Regions from separate parts of the Homo sapiens genome. Here all the other regions are linked to region 3. The links are contacts of gene promoters, found by promoter capture Hi-C in blood cells and fetal thymus (Javierre and others, 2016). All regions are on one chromosome and are shown on one strand. Each heading gives the region's core, a stretch centred on a gene start or on the middle of the fragment in contact. The rest is flanking DNA. Distances are from core to core; before and after follow the strand shown. Region 1 has its middle 140 kb from the start of LINC01893. Region 2 overlaps ZNF516 (zinc finger protein 516). Region 3 holds the start of CNDP2 (carnosine dipeptidase 2).

Evidence for each region. The method cuts DNA at HindIII sites, captures the fragments that hold promoters and counts their contacts. A CHiCAGO score of 5 or more calls a contact.
Region 1: a fragment that was not itself captured here is called in contact with the fragment with the promoter of CNDP2 in region 3 in 1 of 17 cell types (endothelial precursors); the score reaches 7.0 in endothelial precursors.
Region 2: a fragment that was not itself captured here is called in contact with the fragment with the promoter of CNDP2 in region 3 in 1 of 17 cell types (activated CD4 T cells); the score reaches 5.4 in activated CD4 T cells.

What each region holds. Positions count from the first base shown.
Region 1 is chr18:76,343,411-76,347,086 of GRCh38, forward strand. No RefSeq gene overlaps it. Among named protein-coding and RNA genes, the nearest start is that of LINC01893, 140 kb to the left of the region's middle. The HindIII fragment of the contact is 3,172 bases long and covers 1-2,929 here.
Region 2 is chr18:76,380,120-76,383,866 of GRCh38, forward strand. It overlaps ZNF516 (zinc finger protein 516), which reads right to left. Exons shown (of 7, transcript NM_014643.4): 4 at 1-184. Among named protein-coding and RNA genes, the nearest start is that of ZNF516-AS1, 110 kb to the right of the region's middle. The HindIII fragment of the contact is 8,193 bases long and covers 1-3,747 here.
Region 3 is chr18:74,494,229-74,497,819 of GRCh38, forward strand. It overlaps CNDP2 (carnosine dipeptidase 2), which reads left to right and starts at 2,135. Exons shown (of 12, transcript NM_018235.3): 1 at 2,135-2,203. RefSeq lists enhancers at 1,421-1,690, 2,248-2,760, 3,144-3,243 and silencers at 1,961-2,470, 2,601-2,650. The HindIII fragment of the contact is 6,969 bases long and covers 582-3,591 here.

The DNA.
Region 1 (3,676 bases), core at 94-2,593, 1.8 Mb after region 3:
GGGCTTCCCTGAGGTGCAAGGGCAGCTGAGCGGTAGACATCCTATGATGTCTGGTGCTGTGATAGGTGCACGCTGCAATCTGAATTCTATCCACCACTCCATGGAAACTGCCCTACTACATCAGCAGAGACGGGCTATTTCAAAGCACAATGGACTCATCTAGATTCATGTTTGCTTTAACTTCAGCTTTTAGTGAGGCCTGCCAACTCCATATCTGAACCCATAACTAGCTACATTTCCTCTTCCCTTAGTCCTATAGGAGCATCATCACCTATTGATACTTTGACTTCTTTTTCATCTTTATTTTCTTCTTAGAGAGTTCACACATTTTCATGACGTAAGCATGAGTCTAATCAAACATGAATCTTTATTTTCAATCTCACCTCCTCCATGAATCTTCTGGCCTATATTTCCAATTAATTTTAGCACAGTGTGAATTACATATGAGGATAATGGTAATGATGAGGACGATGGCAATAATGATGGTGAAGATGGTGGTGATGACGATGGTGATGGTGATAATGGTAATGGTAATGATGATAGTGATGATGAAAATGGGATGATAGTGATGATGGTGATGGTAATGATAATTGTGATCATGGCAATAATGGTGATAGTGATGGTGATTGATGGTGATGATGTGATGGTGATGATAATGATGATAGTGATGATGATGGTGATAATGGTGATGGTGATTATGATGATGATGATGGTGGTACAGATAGTGGTGATGCTAACAGTGATGATGATGATAGTGATGGTGGTGATGGTGATGATGATGGTGATTATTATTACGGTAATAACGGTGATGGTGATGGTGATTATTATGGTAATAATGGTGATAGTGATGATGGTGAAGATGGTGGTAATGATGATGCTGATGATGATGATGATGATAATAATGGTGACGGTGATGATGGTGATGATGGTGATGGTGATAATGATGATGGTGATAGTGATGATGGTGATGGTGATGAGGGTGATAATGGTGATACTAATGATGGTGATGGTGATAATGGTGATGATGGTGATGACAATTATTATTATTATTATGGTAATAACAGTGATCATGATGATGATGGTGATGGTGATGATGGTGAAGATGGTGGTAATGGTAATGATGGCAATGGTGATGATGGTGATAATAGTGATGATAGTGATGGTAATGATTATTATGGTAAAACAGTGATGAGGAAGGTGATGGTGATGATGACGAAGGTGGTGGTATGATGCTGCTGCTGATGATTATGATGGTAATAATGGTGATGATGATGTAGGTGATGGTGATAATGGTGATGAAAAAGATAATGATGGTATCATCAGAACCTCAGCCTTGTCCTGGGAAGAATCCCTATCTCAGGAAAATATGGTCATTCAGAAGACAGTTTAGAGAGACAGAAAAGGACAAACCTATTCAAAGTAACCTGCTAATCTCAGAAAAATAAAGATACCACTTTTGAGCCCCAAGTCTAATCAAAATACATGAACTTAGTACATGTCACAGTGATTTAATGTTTTTAGAAAAGGAGGCTGATTCCTCAGGCATTATAGAGATAAAACCTATGAAAAGAGAAGAAATTACAGAAATTCAGAACAAGACTAATCATATAGGTCCAGAGCTCTCCATATGCAAGTCCTCATGTATATCAAAGAGGGAAGATTTTAGTGGAATTTAGTTAGCTTTATTTTGCTCACGAATTGCTTTAGGAGTTCATCTTTTATGTTATAAATTTACATAGATAGACACACATGAGCTTTCCCCAGAAGCCTTCCCTGAACCCTAAGGTTTGGCTAAGTCTGCCTCCTCTGTTCTCCCAGGGTACTGTGCATACTTCTATTGTTGCACTCAGCACATTATTTGTGGTAGACTTATTACAAAAATACCTTCAAATCCTTAGCCTTCCCTGTATTCACATTTTTTGCAATACTGCTTGCAGACCATCCAGTCAAGAGGTGGAATCTATTTCCCCGCTAGGCTGGCTTTGGGAATTACTTTGGCCAACAGAATGGGGTGTGTGGAACCAGATGCTGGTCTCCGTCTTGCATATCTCCACTCTCAGTCTGGCCTCTCTGCCTTCATCACCAGGGTCCTGCTGAAGAGTGAGACCCAAAACGCAACAGTTGCTCCAGCTGAGCCCCAGGCACATGAGAAAGCTCAGCCATGATCAGAAATGCCCCCTCGCTGATCTGCAGCTGACTGCAGATGCATGAGTGATCCCTGGACCTGGCCAGCCCAGGTCAGCAAAACCACTCAGCTCATTGGTGGTGATGGCGATGATGGTGATAATGATGGTGAGCAAACCTCCATGGTCATTGTTGTGTGCCACCAACGTGGTGTGGATATTTGTTTTCTAGGTCATGAAATAAAGCAGTGGCCAAGACAGTCTCTGCCTTTAGGGCATTTATATTCTGGTGTGGGAGACAAATAATAAACTATACCTATGTGTGTTTGTGTGTGTGTGTGTGTGTGTGTGTGTGTGTGTGTGTGTATGAATGACACATAGTGGCAAGTACTAGAAAGAAAAACAGCAGACAAGTGGATAGAGCATGATAAGGGAGCATTCTAGCTTCCACAAGCAGCCAGGGCAGCTGTACCTGCCCTCTGGGAAGGGGCATGGGGGCTGAGACCTGTGAGACCCAGATGAAGTGAGGCAACAAGCTGAGCGAAGGCCCAAGGAAAGTGTTCCAGGAAGCACAGGTGCTTCGCGGAGGACAGTGTTTCATTGATCACATGTGGCCTGCTGCCCAGGACAGAGACAACATTTGGTATTTGTCGATCAAAATATGGAAAAACACAGGGTGTCTATTATTGGGCTTCTGAAATGTTTCCAAATGGTGGCCAAGATTAGAAGATATGCATCTTTCCCAAAACCAGAAATATTTCTAGCTTTAGTTAAATTCACTGTATTTATAGGTGAGCTAACTGTCAAGCTTTCATCTAGAAAAATACTTAAATTTGAAAATCTAGGAATACCTCAGAAGTCTAATCCACCTACACTTGACTCATCGAGGGCTGTTTTCCAGAACTTTCTATCATACTTATTATTTCAAAAGGTGAAGAAAATCCAGTCAGGGAGTCATTCACAAGGGACCAATGAGCCTCCAGTCAGTTCCACACAAGGGCCGGGCACTCGCTGCTGCGTCCTGCCTCCCACCTCCCCACGGGCTCCGGAACTGCGTCCGAAGGGTGGCATCCTTCCTGCCTGGCCTCAGCTGAGCCTGCACTGCCCAAGGTCCCCAGCGGTTGGCTGGAACTGACTAGTCAGGGCCGGGCCGGTGGGGCATGAGCGGCTCTTGTGGCCCACCATTGGCCTGCGAGAGGTAAGCAGGGACTGCCACGTCCTCTCTTAGGAGCCCAGGCCTGGGATAGGGATAAACTCTGCCTGTGAGCTCCCAGCCTGAGCCAAGGGTCGCGTAGATCCAGGGGCTGGTGCAGCCACTGGAGGCCACACGCAGGCAGACAGCTGAGCAGACGAATTCCATCCAGACAGGGGACAGCGGGACAGAACCCGGGGGTAGACTCAGGGCTGGGGCCGTGGGCGGCCAGGACCACACCTGGCTCCCGGGGACACTGGGTCCCTGCGGAGGCCCCACGGCACATCCTCTCCCCAGAGTACCTGAGCCCTCGTTTTAGTCTGAGAATCAAACGTCATTTGTATCGGGCCAGCCTGAGGAG
Region 2 (3,747 bases), core at 1,075-3,574, 1.9 Mb after region 3:
TCTTGCCTTCTAGAAGTCTCTCTGCTACTGTTTTCAAGTATGGACACAGAAGCTGCGATCCCTGCCTTGGACTCGCCGGTGTCTCTTTCCGAGGCGTTATCTCCCATCTTGTGACTCTGGTCTCCACTGGAGAGCTCGGTCGAAGTCACCTCTTCGGAAAAGCAGCAGCGGCGCGGCTGTCCCCCTAGAGGAGGCAAAATATGAAACGGGAAGTTACCATTTCTCATCAGAACACAGCAAGACACACGGTGCGTACAGCTACAGCATGTTCCAAGCCATCTGTCTTCAGCGGGAGAAGCCACCCTTGAGTCTGGGTGGCTCTTAGAAAACCCCTGAGGAGCCACCCAGACAAGAACAAAAGGGGGTGAGTCAGGCAGGACTTCTTTTCTCAATTTAAATGACCTGAAAGATCACAGGGAAAAAATACAATAGCAGTGGTGTATCTAGTTACATGTAACGACGCTGTCCCTAGTTAACAGAGGGTGACTGGTATATTAAAACTTGGGAAAAAAATTAATTATTCACAGCAGTATAAGGTTCGTATGACTTTCGAGGAACTCTACATTTAGGGCTCTTGTGGAATCTTCACAATCATTCATTGCAGGGTAAGAAAACCAGAGAAGTTGGGTGGAGCCCACAGTCACAGAAGCAGGCTTGGGCAACAGCTTACTCTGTCCAAAGGACCCCCCGTGTCTGCCTCCGAAACCACTGGGCTACCGACCACCTTCCGCCTCAGCCATAGGGCTCCCTCCCTACGCATCTCTCCTGTGAGGGCAATTCTCAAGCCCAAAACACTGATGCCCCAAGGTCCCCCAGAGGCGGGTGAGCAAAGGCAGCCACGCTATCCACCTCCATGCCGCCACCTGCCGGCTGCCCAGGAGAACTGAGCCCGGGGTTCCGCCCCTCAAGCTCTGCGCCCCTGATGGTCGGACCTTGACGGAGAGCGTGTCTGAGCCACAGTCTGGGATGAACTCTGCGGTGGGGAGGGATGGTGTGGTCAGAACCCTCCCACTTTACCCAAGGAACGCGTGAGACAGGGAGAAACACAGCCGAGGTGTGGGCTGTGCTCGGAGGTTTTAAGGCTTTTCCAAAGTCAGAAGAGACTGTACTGCAAGTGGACACAACACGGATTAACAAAAATTCGGTTTTATGTTTTGCATTTACGGCCTTGGGTTTCTGTAAATCTAGACATCGAAACAGGGCAGGAGTACAGATGTTTCCGGATATCTTAAAACTCTCTGAACTATAAAACACAGGATTCTTCACCACCCAGCCGCCATCTGCAGTCCCTTACAGCCATGTCTCCGTATAAGGCCCCAAGTTCTTGGTTTTCAAATAAGATTTTCAGAGATTTTTAACATTCAGTAAAATGGAGGGATCTGCTAACTCAGAATGTTCCTTTAAAATGTTCTAAGTGTATATTTGGAGATAACACTTAGGAATCCCAACAAACTGGTAACAAATCCATTCCAAGGGGTTCTTCATCAGGGTGAGACAGCGCCTGTCACTGAAGGCACTTGCCCAGATCTGAGGGACACGGTAACAAATGCTGGTTTTCAATCAGCGGGCAGTTAGTGCGCAATTCATACGCCGTGTTAAAGGACTTGTCCATGTAAAAAACGCCAGCAGTTAAGGGCTGATCAGCAGAACTGGTGCGGAGATGAGACAAAGGAAGAAAAAACTATCCAACTCCTACCGGCTCCTAAAGGCTAATATTTAAATAAAGTCAAGGCTGGACACAGTGGCTTATGCCTGCAATCCCAGCACTATGGGGGGCCGAGGCGGGTGGGTCACCTGAGGTCAGGAGTTCAAGACCAGCCTGGCCAACGTGGTGAAACCCCGTCTCTGCTAAAAATGCAAAAATTAGCCAGGTGTAGTGGCACGCGCCTGAAGTCCCAGCTACTCCGGAGGCTGAGGCAGGAGAATCGCTTGAACCCAGGAGGTGGAGGTTGCAGTGAGCTGACATCACGCCACTGCACTCCAGCCTGGGCAACAGAGCAAGACTCCATCTTAAAAAATAACAGTAATAATGATAATAAAATAAATTTTAAAATAAAAAATAAATCAATGAAGTCAGGTATATGAGTCTGTTATACGCACACAGTGGTATGAGAAAGGAGACTGGGCAGTGCTAGGATGCACCACGGATAAAAACATGGAATTAAGTATATGAAAGAGGAAACGTTAGCCTTTGTTTAAGTCAGAATGGTGCTCAGTACGTTCGACTCATTTCTAAATATTCGAAAAAGGCAACATCCAGCAGGGAGAGATCTAGTTTTCCCTGCAGTAAAGGAATACAGATTTCTGAACACACATGTCCAAGACTACTAGTGGAGTCTGTCAGTGTAAACAATGCGGCTGTGTCATCGGCCCCTGTACATCTGTGGGGTTTTCAAAGCACGACTGTCGAGGCTTCCAAAATGTTCCCCAAAAGGATCATAAAACATCACCTAGAACTTCCAGTACCTCTGACCAAGACACTGAGTAATAAACTAAAAGTGAATAATCTAGCCAGGCACAGTGGCTCAGACCCATAATCCCAGCACTTTGGGAGGCCGAGGCGGGCAGATCACTTGGGGCCAGGAGTTCGAGACCAGCCTGGCCAACATGGCAAAATGCTGTCTCTACTAAAAACACAAAAATTAGCTGGGCATGGTGGCCAGCACCTGTAATACCAGCACTTTGGGAAGCCCAGGAGAGCGGATCATTTGGGATCAGGAGTTTGAGGACAGCCTGGCCAACATGGCAAAACCTCGTCTCTACTAAAAATACAAAAATTAGCCAAGCGTGGTGGCATGCGCCTCTAATCCCGAGGCTGAGGCAGGAGATTCCCTTGAACCCTGGAGGGGGAGGCTGCAGTGAGCCGAGATGGCGCCACTGCACTCCAGCCTGGGCAACAGAGCAAGACTCTGTCTCAAAAAAAAAAAAAAAAAAAAAAAAGCGCATGGTCTAGCCCAAGTTATCGATGTCACCGGTCGAGAGTGAACGGCAAAATGCCTCTGGAACACACAGACCCTGCACAGAGTCCCGAGCCACCCCAGGAGGGCGGGAGAGAAGCATGACCACGAGTGGAGGGGCAGCGGGCAGGAAACTGAAGCTATTCGCAGAAGCAGCTGATGAGCAGAAAGACTGAACAGCTTTCCAAGGACCTACTTCCTTTCCAAGGAAGAAAACACGTGGCTAACTGGAGAGGCGCAGGATCCTCAGCAACAAGGAACCAAGCACCTTCTCAGCCAGGGACCCAGGACCCTCTTCTCCACCAGGCACCTTCTCAGCCAGGGACCCAGGACCCTCTTCTCCACCAGGCACCTTCTCAGCCAGGGACCCAGGACCCTCTTCCCCACACCAGGCACCTTCTCAGCCAGGGACCCAGGACCCTCTTCCCCACCAGGCACCTTCTCAGCCAGGGACCCATGACCCTCTTCCCCACCAGGCACCTTCTCAGCCAGGGACCCAGGACCCTCTTCCCCACCAGGCACCTTCTCGCCAGGGACCCAGGACCCTCTTCCCCACCAGGCACCTTCTCAGCCAGGGACCCAGGACCCTCTTCCCCGGACCCTCTTCTGACCGAGGTTTCTTCATTACAGGATCAGGGCCACTGAAACAGCAAAAGCCTCTAGTGAGCTCCCGATCAGGCCTCAGGCCTTGGTGTACAGAGAGGCGCAGGCCCAAGCGCTCCCCGCATTCATCATCAGTAAGCCACAGAACAGACGGCTTCGCCCCTCGTCCCCGGCTCCTGGACCCAGT
Region 3 (3,591 bases), core at 885-3,384:
ATCAGGTACTGACTTAACATTGTTCCCAGGGGAATAATGACAATTAACATATTTCCAGGTAACAGGGTTCTATATTAAGGGTAAATGTTGTGTTTTGTATTTTCTTAACATTTATTCAGATTCATAGGAGAAACATGTTCACCAACTTCTTCAACACTGAGTACTGCAAATGCATTTTCATGTTTTCACTTGGACTGAAGCATCTGATTGCTCTAAAGTTCTCAACTACTTCTTTGCTCATTATTTATTCTTACCTTGAGCCTATTAAATTTTGGTAACAGTAGTGTGTTATGGCTTCTACTCTAAATCACTTCTTTTTGCTATATACATATGTGTGTGTGTGTGTGTGTGTGTTTTGTTTTTTTTTTTAACCAAACCCTCTTTTCAGCAATAATCTCATTTATGGATACCTGAACGAATTTATTTAAAAGCCCAGTAGATATGATTAAAGGATGTATCTTCCACCAATGTTTACTTTTTGCAATGTTTGCAAAATGTGTAATATAGTTTTTTCTTTTTATCATTCATGTACAATAATTATTATGAGAATTTAATCCAGAAGAAAAAATGTTAATACTTAAAGCTTTTTGGTTATAGCAAAGTGTCTATGGCCATACCACCCTGAACATGCCTAATCTCATCTGGTTATAGCAAAGTAAATATTAATTTAAATTTTTATCATAGTCTGTTGTAGAGAAATGATTAGGATATGAGTAAGACTATTAAGTATAAAAATGTTACATTTAACAAAATTCTATGAGGGATGTGGAATAGAAATAAAAAATAAAAGAGGAGGCAGGGATGGGGGGGACGGGGTGGCTCACGCCTGTAATCCCAGCACTTTAGGAGGCTGAGGCGGGTGGATCAGTAGGTCAAGAAATCGAGACCATCTTGACCAATATGGTGAAACCCTGTCTCTACTAAAAATACAAAAATTAGCTGGGTGCGGTGGTGCGCACCTGCAGTCCCAGCTACTCGGGAGGCTGAGGCAGAATGGCTTGAACCTGGGAGGCGGAGCTTGCAGTGAGCTGAGACTGGGCTACTGCATTCCAGCATGGCAACAGAGCAAGACTCTGTCTCTAAATAAATAAATAAATAAATAAATAAATAAATATAAAAAGAGGAAACAAACCATGTAAATTTTAAGGGAGGAGACAATTTTAACATTTTACTTTATGTGGGAACGTATACATCTCTTACAACTATTAAATTCATTTTTAAAAAATAATAACTCCCGAGCCATCACTCCTTAAAGAATGTGGTAGTGGTACAAGTTTAAAGAAAGTCTTTTGAGAACACTCTATTGGAAAAGTGAGCAGACTAGGGAATAACAATTTTACCCCCAAGAATTGTTGTTAAGATTAAAAAGGAAAGCGCTGTCGCAGACGCTCAAACACGGTGCTGGCTCTGCTTCCTTCATCAGTTCCTAGGGTCATGGGACACAAATACTAAAATATTTCCACTACTGGTAACGATGCTGGCGAACGCTTTCCTAATCCAGTTCAGACCGACCTCTCATTGGAGCTTGTGTGACCCGCAGGAGTCCGTGCCCCGACTCCGCCGGGACTGAAACGCAACGGAAAGTGCAGTGCTGGATGCGCAAGGGAATGGGAGCGTCGTGGGACCTCCGGAGCCTGGGAGATCAGAGGGTGGAGTCAGGGCCCCCTAGTTTTGGACTCCATTGCCGCACTGCAGGCGACTTCTCGGACCCCACCGTTGAAGCACCAGGCCCCCCGCCCACCCAAGAGCAACCGGGAAGCACAGCACAAGCCCACAGCTCCGGACACGCGCTCCCGTGTGCCCTGCCTCCCCTGAATCCCAACCCACGAAATCTCCGCCCCCTCGCCACGCCCACATCCCCGTCTACCGTCGGGGAGGGGCGACGAGGCGAAAGCCTTGTGGACCAGGCCGGGATTGGTGGGCGGGACGGAAATGGAGCTGGGAGAGGTGACGTCACCTTCCGCACCTGGCTCAGGGCGGAAATGGGGCGGGGAGAGAGTGACACCACCCCTCTGCCTGTGGCTGGATTGGTGGGCGTGGCGGGGGCGTGGCGATGCCTGCCCTCCGGACAAGGCGGGGTTGGTGGCCAGGGCGACCGCGGGGCGGGCCAGCGCCGGGGGTCGTGGCCGGGACACGTGGTACGGAACCGGCGCCGCGCTTGCTGCTGGTAACAGGGCCTTGCCTAGTGGGCCTTCCTTCCCAGGTGGGTCTTCCTGATGGACCTTCCTTCCCGGGTGGGCGCCCTGAGCTGGGAACGGGCTGGGCGGGGAGGACCCGGGTCAGCGGCGAGAGTCACGCCTCATTCGTGGGGGAGCGTGGGGCGCCCGGCCGCAGCCAGGCGGGAACAATGGTGTCCGGGCTGTTCCCGAGCGCGCGGTCGGGGGCGGAGGCCCGTGACGGCCATGGCCCCGGGGCCTCTCGCACCTCCGGGCCACTCGTGTCCCAGCAGCGCCGAGCGCGTCCCCGGTACGCAGGGACAAGCTGGGCGGCGCACTTGGCCTGAGCCTGCGTGGCCCTCCCTGGTGGAGTCGAGTGGAACGACCCGGGTTGGAGATGGGGTTGCGGGGAGCCGAGCGCTGGTCAGGCCACACCCCTCCCCAGGGGCCTGCTGAGAACTCCAGCCTTTCTCCAACGGATCCCTTTCCCGGAGACCTGGGGTGGGGAGTGTGGCGGGACAGAAGCCTCCCAGGTTCAAAGGGCCCTGGACAGCGTCCCTAGCTCCCGCCAGCATTTGAGGCAGCGTTTAAGGCTATAGGAGGAAGCGTCTGAGGGGAGACAAAATTCCCATGCCAGCTTGATGGTCTGGGGCAGGTGTCTTATTCAATTGGCTTCAGTTTCCTCATCTGTGAAATAGAGACAATATTTGGTCCTCACAGACAGGGCCACCAAACCAAACTCCCCACCGCCTGCCAAGGTCAGATTCCGTAGATCATCCAAGCATAGACTGCAGGAAGAGGCGGAGAACCCGGGGCCTGCTACCAATACCTTCCTTGTCCCTAATGTTTGCAGGCAGGAGTGGAGGAAGAGAAGTCCACATTATGCTTAGGGATCAAGTTCTAGCTTGGGCAGATTGGAGATTCTTTTATTGGTTCTTAATCAGACATGAAGGTGTGATTCAGTTATTTGTGTTATATATGCCTTCAATTATCAAGGGACAGGGACTGAGATTCTCAGAACTAGAAGACTCATTTGTGTGTACTACTGACGGTTCCAGGTGCCACAGCAATTTCTCCTGCCCTCCACTAGTCTCAACATTTAAATCATGTTACTCCCTTGCCAGGCATGGTGGCTCATGTGTGTAACCTCGGCACTTTGGGAGACCAAGGCGGACAGATCGCTTGAGTCCAGGAGTTCGAGACCAGCCTGAGTAACACGAGCAAACCCCGTCTCTACAAAAAATACAAAAATTAGCTGGGTGTGGTGGTGCGCACCTGCAGTCCCAGCTACTTGGGAAGCTGAGGCAGGAGGATCATTTGAGCCTGGGAGACAGAGGTTGCAGTGAGCCAAAATCACAGCAATGCACTCCTGCCTGGGTGACAGAATGACAACCTGTCTCTAAATAAATAAATAAAGTTACTCCGTATGAACTTT